3 separate regions of the Homo sapiens genome follow, and regions 1 and 2 are each linked to region 3. The links are contacts of gene promoters, found by promoter capture Hi-C in human tissues and cell types (Jung and others, 2019). All regions are on one chromosome and are shown on one strand. The core of a region is centred on a gene start or on the middle of the fragment in contact, and the rest is flanking DNA. Distances in the headings are between cores, read along the strand shown.

Region 1 (3,733 bases), core at 699-3,198, 360 kb after region 3:
GCCTATAATCCCAGCACTGTGGGAGGCCGAGGCAGGCAGATCACCTGAGGTCAGGAGTTCGAGACCAGCCTGGCTAACATGGTGAAACCCTGTTTCTACTAAAAATACAAAAATTAGCTGTGTGTGGTGGTGCGTGCCTGTAATCCCAGCTACTCAGGAGGCTGAGGCAGGAGAATCGCTTGAATCCAGGAGGCGGAGGTTGCAGTGAGCCGAGATCATGCCATTGCACTCCAGCCTGGGCGACAAGAGCGAAACTCTGTCTCAAAAAAAAAAAAGAAAAAAAAAGGTTGGGGCAGAGAAGGGAATACGGGAAAATAAAGGATAAAGGCAGCTGCTTCCCTGATAATGAAGTAATTTGCTCCCAAGTCACCCTCATCTGTATCAATCAAGCTTGGCCCCTATGGCCTGGAAGCTGCCCTAGAGACTGGTACAAAACCTCCTGAGAAGAATGGTGTGCCTACTATGTCTCCTATACTCTATCCCTTCATGAAGCTACGCGAATTTAATGCAGGGTTAAAGTACATTGCATACCATGAATTTGATTATCAATCCAAACCTAAGACCATTCTTTGTGGCTGTGCATTGTTTTAACAGCTACAGGCTAACACTTAGTCTTTCCCTGTACTATTTTACAGTTTTAGCTGTCTTCATCATAATTATTACCAGTGTCATTATTTCCTGTCTCTATGCATCATTTCCTAAAGAATCTTGGATCTTTGAGAATAAGGACAGTGAATTTAACAACTCTATTTGGCTAGCTCCCAGAATCTCACACAGTCCTGTGCCCAGAAACCAATAAATTAAATTTCTGGTATAGCAAAGATCACAGGGGTTGGGGGAGAGGGATATGCAACATCAGAACAAGGGGGTGAACTCTATGAGGCTCTTCATCCAAAACATAACCCCATTTCGTAGAGTTGGAAAGTGTGTTCTTTTATCATTGGGTAGTTTTCTAGGAGAAAAAAACAGTCAAGAAGGCATCACAGAAAATTCATGGTTTGAGATCAGAGAAATCTGGATTTAATTCCTGACTCTACCATTTGGCCATCCACGTGTCCCTGTGCATAAATCACGTAATCCCTCTAAGCCAGATGATCTCATCTCGAAAATGGGGATGTCACCACCCATCTCCTACAGCTGTTAATGATTTAAACACAGGACTGAAATATTTATGGATTAAATGGTATGATGCCTTGGATTTTCTTTAATCCAGTGGGAATGGAGATGAAATAAAATTGGCCATGAGTTGATAACTGCTGAAGTGGGATGATGGATACAGAAGAGTTAACTCTTTTTCTACTTTTGCATCTTTGTTTTCTAAAACAAAATGTGAAAAAGAGGTCCAATGTACAAGATCAGACTATTAGATACTATTAAAGTGTTATAACTATTTGTGCAAATGTTGATGTAGGGAACTTTAATAGTGCATTTTAGGATCTTAATAACCCAAGGTTTTTATAAAAAGTTACCATTATATTTTAGAATACTCTGAATTAAAATTAAACTTGGTCATGTTTTTGTATAAGCTCAAAAAATAGAAAGACTAAGTGCAAAAACCATTATAATAAGCCTAGAACAATGGCTAACACAAGGCATAAACCACTTAAATGTTAATCACTTCCTCCCTTCCCAAGAAAGACAGATGAGCCCATTCTCTGAGAAATGAGCCAGCATTTCAGAAAAGAGAAGGGCGGGCCCAACTCACCAGATATCTAGGCTTCTCTTCCCAGGGCCAGGCAGAATCCTTGGCAGGCAGAGCTGGGGAAAGAAAGAAGCAACCTTGAGAAGCCAGCCCTACCAGGCCCATCATGAGGATCCCCAAGAGCCCTCTGAGCCTTGGCTGTGGCCACCTGAGCCTTCTCAGCTGACCCAGACCCTGAGCTCCTCTCACCTCCTGCCTTATGCTTGAGTCAACTTCTCTATGCTCTGCACCACTTCCCTATTACATTTTTACAGAAACACTGATCTTAATTAAATGTAGTAAGGTAAACTCTAAGCACTCATCATCTTTCTACCCTAAAAATTAGCAAAACTGTTGAGACAAGGCATCATTTCCCCCCATGTGTTATGTGACTCTAGTTACATGTTTTTTTTTAATTTATGAAAATGGACCGAGCACAGTGGCACACGCCTATAATACCAGAACTTTGGGAGGCCGAGGCAGGCAGATGACTTGAGGTCAGGAGTTTGAGGCCAGTCTGACCAACATGACAAAGAAACCCCAACTCCACTAAAAATAAAAAAATTAGCCAGGCATGGTAGTGCACGCCTATAATCCCAGCTACTCAGGAGGCTGTGGCAGGAGAATCGCTTGAACCCAGGGGGCGAAGGTTGCAGTGAGCAGAGATCACGCCACTGCACTCCAGCTTGGGCAACAGCAAAACTCCATCTCGAAAATAGTTTATGAAAATGTTAGGCCAGGCGCGGTGGCTCACGCCTGTAATCCTAGCACTTTGGGAGGCCGAGGCAGGCCGATCACAAGGTCAGGAGATCGAGACCATCCTGACTAACACAGTGAAACCCCATCTCTACTGAAAATACAAAAAATTAGCTGGGTGTGGTGGCGGGCACCTGTAGTCCCAGCTACTCAGGAGGCTGAGGCAGGAGAATGGCATGAACCCGGGAGGCAGAGCTTGCAGTGTGCCGAGATCGCACCACTGCACTCCGGCCTGGGCGACAGAGCGAGACTCCGTCTCAAGAAAAAAAAAAGAAAATGTTAAACACAGAAACAGAAGTCTGTGATTTAATGAAAATATTTTTTAAAAATGTGTCAGGCCGGTTTCAGTGGCTCACGCCTGTAATCCTAACACTTTGGGAGGCTGAGGTGGGAGGATCACTTGAATCCACGGCTTCAAGACCAGCCTGGGTGACAATGAGACCCACATCTCTAATAATAAAAATAATAATTATTATATTGTTTTAAAAACTTGTCAATGTTATTCCTTATTTTACAAAAGAGCATGAGTAAAAGGAGAAAAAAGTATTAAAGACCATTACAACAGCATTTCTAAAGCGCAGCTTGTCAGACTCTCATTCCTCTTCAAATTATTGTGGAACTGATTGATTGATTGATTGATTGAGATAGGGTCTCACTATTGCCCAGGCTGGAATGCAGTGGCACAATCTCTGCTCATTACAACCTCCACCTCCTGGGCTCAAGTGATCCTCCCACCTCAACTTCCCTGGGATTACAGGCATGCACCACCATGCCCAGCTAATTTTTGTATTTTTTGTAGAGATGGGGGTTTCACCATGCTGGCTAGGCTGGTCTCGAACTCCCGACCTTAAGTGATCTGCCCACATTGGCCTCTCAAAGTGCTGGGATTATAGGCATGACCCACGACGCCTGGCCTATTGTGGAATTTTAAAAGGTAAGATTTTAACATCTCTGGAGGGAAGCTCAAGCTTTCCCTGCCATATCTGTTTTTTTTTTTTTGAGACAGAGTCTCACTCTGTCACCCAGGCTGAAGGTCAATGGCACGATCTCAGCTCACTGCAACCTCCGCCTCCTGGGTTCAAGCAATTCTCCTGCATCAGCCTCCCAAGTAGCTGGGATTACAGGCACCTGCCACCATGCCTGGCTAATTTTCGTATTTTTGGTAGAGACAGGGTTTCACCATGTTGGCCAGGCTGGTCTCGAACTCCTGACCTCAGGTGATCTGCCTGCCTCGGCCTCCCAAATGCTGGGATTACAGGCGTGAGCCACCGCGCCCAGCCTTCTCTTCCATATCTT
Region 2 (3,826 bases), core at 26-2,525, 390 kb after region 3:
CTCTGTCCTGGGTTGGGGGAGTAGTTAATTGACCCATTGGATGGTCCACACTCTATGCCCCCATCAGCCCCTGCATCCCAGAACAGCCCACTCACCTTATCACAACTGATGTCAAAGGAGCCCCTGGCCTGGTTGAGGGTCACTGTCCCCATACACCGCTTCACCAGCTGGAAAGGAGAAGCTCAAGGTCAAACTTGAAACCATTTGCCATGACCTCCCAGCCACATCCCAGTGGGAAATATTCCCCAGGTGCCCCCTGTTCAGCTCCTTGGGAGGCACCCACCAACACCCCCAGCCCCCAGCCTCACCCCGTCCTTCTTGAAGTCACAATCCTCTGGTGACTGCTGTGTCGTCCTGGGGCACACTGTCTCCTTCACTGTGAAGCTCACAGGCTTTGGCGTGTCTGGGTCCCCATCCTAGTCAGAGGAGGAAATGGGGAGGCCCATTCTTGTATTTTCTGATTTGTGTCCATGACCTCCCCACCAAGAGGGCAGGCTTTCCACAGTACCTGATGTGCGACGGGCACTGGGTGCTGGGCTTGGCACTGGGGCATTGAGGGGAGGAGGACTGAGCCATTCCTACCCTCCTAGGTGAACAGTGAGTAGGAGCAGACCTCAGATGAGCTCTAACAAGGAGCCCCTCCCACTCTGGGGTGGGGGCAAGGGAAGTCAGGGGGCTTCCTGGGGGACAAGACATGCCCACTGGAACCTAAAGTCTGGATAGAGTTCTTCCCTATGTGGGGTAACGTGGTACAGAAGAGACTTAAAGCAGAGGAGGTCACTGCCCAGAGCCAATGACCCCATTCTAGTGCCTGGAGCTCGCAGAAGTCCCAAAACCTGCGTGGGGTCGGGGTGAGGGTATCTCTGCCACAGCAGGAATTATAAGGCAGGAAGCTCTCGAGCTGGGAGGAGACACGAGCTCTAGAAGGTTCCCTGGAAAACACGGGACCACATTTAAAGGGGGAGATGCCCTCCTGGCAGGCAGTGCAGCAGGAGCAGAAGGAACAACACGTGGCCAAGCCCAGCCAGAGCAGAGCAGAATGTCCCCCAAAGCTCACCATCGTGGGCCTGGGGTCCAGGTCCAGGAGGCGGTAGAGGTTAGCATCCGAGGACCGCTGGTTGATGCCATCTATAGCACGAAGCACAGCTTCCTTGTAGCTGAGGACCTGGGCAATGATGGCCAGAGGCATCACCAGGCCCAGCAGCAGGAGCACCAGTGACCACCGCCCCAGGGAGTGGCCATCCCTTTGGGTCTTCATGGTCCCCATGTCTGCCTCCCTCTAGCCCACAGGAGCCTCCTTTATGCCCAGCCTGAGCCTGATGCAAAAGCCCAACCAGGAGCCTTCCTGATCCACCCATCCCTGGCTGCCTGCCAGGGTGTGGGCTGGGGTTTGCTTTAGCCCCTGGCTATTGCTTCACAGGACTTGCTGGGCAGTGAGTGAGGCCTTCCTTGTGTGCAAGATGAGGAAGTGGTTTCTTCATCTCTGACAACCTCCCAGACCTGACCGGAGATTGTCATAGCCAGGGGTGCTCAAGAGCGTTAAATCCCTCCAGAGAGGAAGAGAGCCAGGTGCCTATTCTACATCCTTCTACTCCTCAGGAGTCAGTATGATGGACTGCTAAATCTCCAGCTCTAGGCATTGCCTGGCACCCTGTAGGCATCGATTAAGAATTGATGAATGAGGCAGGGCACGGTGGCTCACGCCTATAATCCCAGCACTTTGGGAGGCCAAGGTGGGCGGATCACCTGAGATAAGGAGTTCGAGACAAGCTTGGCCAACATGGTGAAACCCCATCTCTACTAAAAATATGAAAATTAGCCACGCATGATGGCTCACACCTGTAGTCCCAGCTACAAGCTGAGGCATGAGAATCACTTGAACCCATTGAACCCGGGAAGCAGAAGTTGCAGTTAGCTGAGATCATGCCACTGCACTCCAGCCTGGGTAACAGAGTGAGACTCAGTATGAAAAAAAAAAAAAAGAACTGGTAAATGAAGACAGTAGCCACCCCCAACCTAGAGACTCACTCTTGCAAGGGACAAGTTGCCCTTTCAGTTCAAGGCCATACCACATGCTCTCTGGACCCAGCCGTCAGCCAGACGAAGGCTCTGCTCCATCTATCCCCTTCTGCATCCTTCTTCACTGTTTTTTTCAGTCTCAAAATGTTCCCAAGCCCCTCCAGACATGGCCTTTCACCATGGCTTCTCCCAAGCCAAGTCTTAGGAAAGGTTGTCTACGCTTCTTGACCCCATCTTTTCACTCTTCTTCATGCTGAAGGCCACTGAAGGCTGGCCAACCCACCCTTGGTCCATGGCCACCCTCAAGCCTGGTCTTTGTCTGCACAGGCACTGGTGAGCCTTCCTTCTTGCTGCCCCGGTCTCCCCTGATGCCACTCTCCTGCTGTCCCTCCTGCCTCCCTGGTGGCTCCTTCTTGGTCTCCCCTAAGGGCTGTCTTCTTAATATTGAGAGCGTGTGGGGTCACCTCCTGGGCTGCTTCTCTTCCCTGGCCTCGGGTTTCCCTGGGGACGCCCTCTCCCAGGACACCAGTTATAATAGGCAGACACCACCCAGTCTGTATCTCTGAGTTCGAGACTCCCATGAACGTCCCGGTTGTCCCCACTGGGCCTCCTTGACTGCTCTTCTGCTGAGTGCCCACTGCATGAGCCCTGAAGCACCTTTGGCTCCTTCCTCCCGAAAGCACTCCCCTCTGGCCTCTCCTTCCACCCCTGCCTGGCTCCTGCCGCCATCTTCTCTCCCATGCAATGCTGCCCCAGCCTCCAGACTCCACCTTCTCTAGGTTTCAGGCTCTCCCCAGACCACAGTCCACCCTCCACACCGTTGTCCAGGGGTTCCTTTAAACCACCAATTTGGCCATTTCAACCCTCTACCTTCAGGAGCCCACACACCCCCTAGGCTGGCATCAGGGCCTGTGGCCTTTTGGTTCCCACTGCCCTCACCCCAGCCCTGCACACTGCAAGTGCCAGACTGTCACGTATGCCCCCATCACATAGGCTCATCTGAGCCTCCTGCTCTTTCTCCCAGCTCTGCCCCGATCCTTCTGTTTGGCCTGCCCTTTCACCTCATGAAGCTTTCCCTGACCTCCAACCAGGCACAGCAATCTCCTCTTTGCCCCTACATCTTCCAGGAAGTCTCTCCTGATTCGACCTCAAATTACTCCCTGTTTGGTGCTCTAGCTGAGACACCAAGCTGGGATGGGTGGCTGGTGTTGGGAGAGGGAGAGATCACAGCCAGGAGAGATAAAGGGCCAAAGTGATAGAGGGGTCCAGCGTCCATGAGGCAAATTCCGGTCCCAGCTCCTCTGTGGACTGGCCATGTGGCCCTGAGGCCTGGGGTACCTCTTGACCTCAGTTGGCCTGTGGGACACTTGGGGGCTTGGACAGCAGGGCTCCTGGAAGGTGGAAGCCTGGACGAAGGCCACCGGTTGCACACCTGGCCTTGAGAGAAGGAAGAAGTGGGCTTCTGTGCAACCTGGTTTCACAGTTCAAGTGTTGCCCCAGTGGCCTGTTGGTCAAGCAGGGCTTGCACATCAGGTCTTTTATGGCTGTTGGGAAAAGGGCCATCCAGGGATATCAGACCTCTCAGGGCTCTCCTGCTTCCTCCACCCTTCTGACTGGCTTCAGGATCCCCAAGAAGCCAAACCGGGGAGAAGCAGATGGCAATGTTAGTCCTTAGGCTAGGGCGTGAGAGCTGCATGCTCCTGTGTTCCTCTAGGTCAGATCTGGCATATTCAGAGCCCCTTTCCAACTGCCTCAAGAGGACGTTCCACTTCGGCCAGTGCTGGACACGCCCTCACATGAAATCAGC
Region 3 (3,688 bases), core at 1,048-3,547:
TACAACACACATGTTTATTCAGTATACTTGCATTAGGACCCCCTTCATGAGTATCTATAGCTCTTCCTGTAACCTGTTGAATATGGTATTTTTTGTTTTTGTTTTTTCTTTTTTGAGACAGAGTCTCGCTCTGTCACCCAGGCTGGAGTGCAGTGGCGCGATCTCGGCTCACTGCAACCTCCGCCTCCCAGGTTCAAGCGATTCTTCTGCCTCAGCTTCCCGAGTAGCTGGGATTATAGGCACATGCCATCATGCCTGGCAGATTTTTTGTATTTTTAGTAGAGACGGGGTTTCACCATGTTAGCCAGGATGGTCTCAATCTCCTGACCTTGTGATCCGCCCACCTCGGCCTCCCAAAGTTTGGGATTACAGGTGTGAGCCACCGTGCCCGGCCGAATATGTATGTTTAGCCAAGCCATTCGACATAAAGCTCCTGCCTCTTTTTAAGGGTCTGTCTCTGGTTTTGACCAGAAGCCCACCTCCCAGCCTGCAGGTTGTAACCCTTTATAAGAAATAAAGTCAGCCTGGCACGGTGGCTCATGACTGTAATCCCAGCACTTTGGGAGGCTGAGGTAGGAGGATCACTTGAGCTCAGGAGTTTAAGATCAGCCTGGGCAACATAATGAGACCCCCGTCTCCACAAAAAATAAAAAAAAATTAGCTGGGTGTGGTGTGAGAGCCTGTGGTCATGGCATCTGGCATGATTTTTATAAAGATAGTTTTATTTTAAGTATAAGAGTAGTTTTTGGGTAAGGTGTGGTGGCTCACCCCTGTAATCCTAGCACTTTGGGAGGCTGAGGTGGGTGGATTGCTTGAGGCCAGGAGTTTGATATCAGCCTGGCCAACATGGTAAAAAATGCAATGATCCTAGCCCTTGCCTCTTCCTGTACTTAAGATACTGTCTGACAGGATTAATGATTATGCTTCTGTGACCTATAAACAGATGTACTCTTGCACCCAAACCTTGATGAGATTTATGCTCTAATGTAACTTCTGAGCACATTTGATGTAATTTCTGAGCACATGGAGAGCCGCCACCACCAGTGTATAAACTGTCGGAAACACTGCTTTGGAGCAGTCTAGCAGAAACTCCCTGAAAGGCTCTCCCGGGTTGCAATTCTTGGTAAGACTTCTGAATAGAACTAACTTTAAATATTTAAAAGCTTGTTTTTTTTTTTCTTTAGTTGACATAACAAAGCATACCTTAGAAGTCTTTTTTTTTTTTTTTTTTTTTTTTTGAGACGGAGTTTCGCTCTTGTTGCCCAGGCTGGAAATGGCGCGATCTCGGCTCACCGCAACCTCCGCCTCCCGGGTTCAAGTGATTCTCCTGCCTCAGCCTCTGGAGTAGCTAGGATTACAGGCATGCGCCACCACGCCCGTCTACTTTTGTATTTTTAGTAGAGACGGGGTTTCTCCATGTCGGTCAGGCTGGTCTCAAATTCCCGACCTCAGGTGATCCGCCCACCTCGGCCTTCCAAAGTGCTGGGATTACAGGCATGAGCCACTGCACCCAGCCAGAATTCTTTTTCCTCTTACAGAAAAGGAAAGGTTTCACCATGTTGGCCAGGCTGGTCTTGGACTCCTCGCCTCAAGTGATCCACCTGCCTCGGCCTCCCAAAGTGTTGGGATTACAGGAGTGAGCCACCGCTCCCGGCCTGTACTTAGTTCTTTTAAAGAGAAAACTGGCAGGGCGCAAAACTGGCCAACATGGAGAAACCTTGTCTCTTCTAAAGAAACAAAAATTACCGGGCATAATCCCAGCTACTCGGGAGGCTGAGGCAGGAGAATCGCTTGAAGCCGGGAGGCGGAGGTTGCAGTGAGCCGAGATCGCGCCATTGCACTCCAGCCTGGGCGACAGAGCGAGACCCTGTCTCAGAAAATAAAAAATAAATAAAGAGAAAAAAATACTGACTTTCAGCACCAACTTGTGGTCCCAGGTAAGTTTCCACGCTGGTACTTTAGCCCTGGGCTCGAACCTGCGGACACGCTGTGGCTGCAACTCCCCGCCCGCCAGACCTCAGTACGCAGCGCGGCTGGTGAGAAACATAATGCACTCTGACTTCCACGCGTGGAATGGGGAGATGGACTGCACGGCGGGCGGACCTGCTCGGGCTGATGGACGGCAGGTGGACTGATGTGCGCAGGGACTGGCGGCAGCGCGGTCAGAGCCAGTCAGCCAAAGCCAGGCCAGCACAATAGACTGTCCCGGTTCCCGCCAGGAGGCGGCCGAGCACCAACTGTACGGTACTGCGCCTGCGCCGCGACCGCCAACGCGCCCAGTCTACGCTTGCGCGGCGCAACAGGGCCGACTGCAGCTGGAAGATGGCGGCGTCCGTGGTCTGTCGGGCCGCTACCGCCGGGGCACAAGTGCTATTGCGCGCCCGCCGCTCGGTGAGGTGGTGGCGAGAGCGCGGGGCTTCGGGACAGGGCTTCGGGAAGCGGACAGGTGTGGGCTGTTAGCAGTGGCAGGTCGAGGTGGGGAGGACGCGGGGTCAGGGCCGTGGGAAGGTCACGGCGGAGGGCGGGGAAAGGTATCTCGCCGCTTGCCTAGGGGCGGGGTTCGGGGGTCCTCCTGAGGACCTGGGAGGTGGGGAGCGATCCCCTGACCGAGTCCTCACTCGCGGCTGTTCCCTTCCACAGCCGGCCCTGCTGCGGACGCCAGCCTTGCGGAGTACGGCAACCTTCGCTCAGGCGCTCCAGTTCGTGCCGGAGACGCAGGTTAGCCTGCTGGACAACGGCCTGCGTGTGGCCTCCGAGCAGTCCTCTCAGCCCACTTGCACGGTGAGTTGGGGACGCTTTTGGGGAGAGGGCCTCCAGGTTGGGCCTGCCGTCTTTTCCCTGGTTGGGGTGTGACCTTGGGCTCGAGTCTTCCCGTTTGTGGTTTGGGTTCGGACCCAGGACCACTCACCCCGAGAATGGCCCCATTCCCTACCCTAGCCACGCCTTGGCTTCACGGGACAATCTTCACTATAAGCCAACATTATTTAGCATATAATGCCCGTTAAGTAGGCGGCCAAATTCTTTTCCAGCCTTTTGTTAAGGAGCCCATATAAGGGAAGTGATCATGTCTCCTCTTATAATGCGGAAAATGGGATTCAGACACCTTAGGTGACTTGCAGGGGTCCAGGTCTGTCAGCCTCACTGCCCAAGGTCATAATCTCCAGGCTAGACCAGAAATACATTTTAGGAAGCAAATGCATTTTAACAGTACAATGAAATGTGTGATTTTCCAAAAAATACAAATTCTCTAAATTGACACAAGAAATCTTGAGTCACAGATAGATATATGAATAGGTGAGAAGATTCCCAAGAAATAATTATCTCCTCCTCCTTTCAGCCCCCAGCCCCAGGGCCAGATGTTTTTATTGACACATCCTTTTAGTTTTCCAGAAACAATGTCCTGCGATTTAAATTGTTACTAAGCATAGGAAAAGGTGGCCTGCAACTTCCTTGTTATATGTCACTTGTTATAGTAAAGAATGCTATATTACATGAACTCTAAAATGTGCTAGATTGTAAGGAGCTGTCTGTGCTCCAGTGCCAGAGAAAGAATCTCAAGAATCTTGCCAATTTTAATCAAAGGATACTATAGATTGTAAAATGCCTCTTGCATTCCAAGATGTTAGATGTGAAATACATGTTCATCTAAGATTGTGTGATATATGGTATATGCATTGACATCTCTTAG

Evidence for each region. Contacts are between HindIII fragments. The study calls those that stand out against the background at their distance.
Region 1: a fragment that was not itself captured here is called in contact with the fragment with the promoter of UQCRC1 in region 3 in 1 of the 25 tissues and cell types used here (bladder).
Region 2: a contact is called between the fragment with the promoter of CAMP here and the fragment with the promoter of UQCRC1 in region 3, in 4 of the 25 tissues and cell types used here (IMR-90 fibroblasts, lymphoblastoid cells, small bowel and 1 more).

The regions. Positions count from the first base shown.
Region 1 is chr3:48,245,650-48,249,382 of GRCh38, reverse strand. It overlaps ZNF589 (zinc finger protein 589), which reads right to left. Exons shown (of 4, transcript NM_016089.3): 2 at 1,706-1,758. Among named protein-coding and RNA genes, the nearest start is that of ZNF589, 6.4 kb to the right of the region's middle. The HindIII fragment of the contact is 4,289 bases long and covers 1-3,733 here.
Region 2 is chr3:48,220,944-48,224,769 of GRCh38, reverse strand. It overlaps CAMP (cathelicidin antimicrobial peptide), which reads right to left and starts at 1,275. Exons shown (of 4, transcript NM_004345.5): 1 at 1,058-1,275; 2 at 309-416; 3 at 96-167. The coding sequence starts at 1,258. RefSeq lists a silencer at 1,297-1,591 and enhancers at 1,601-1,650, 1,661-1,790, 1,811-1,930. The HindIII fragment of the contact is 5,660 bases long and covers 1-2,430 here.
Region 3 is chr3:48,608,255-48,611,942 of GRCh38, reverse strand. It overlaps UQCRC1 (ubiquinol-cytochrome c reductase core protein 1), which reads left to right and starts at 2,297. Exons shown (of 13, transcript NM_003365.3): 1 at 2,297-2,391; 2 at 2,641-2,781. The coding sequence starts at 2,323. RefSeq lists enhancers at 1,907-2,016, 1,713-2,227, 2,307-2,406 and a silencer at 2,577-2,676. The HindIII fragment of the contact is 22,312 bases long and covers 1-3,688 here.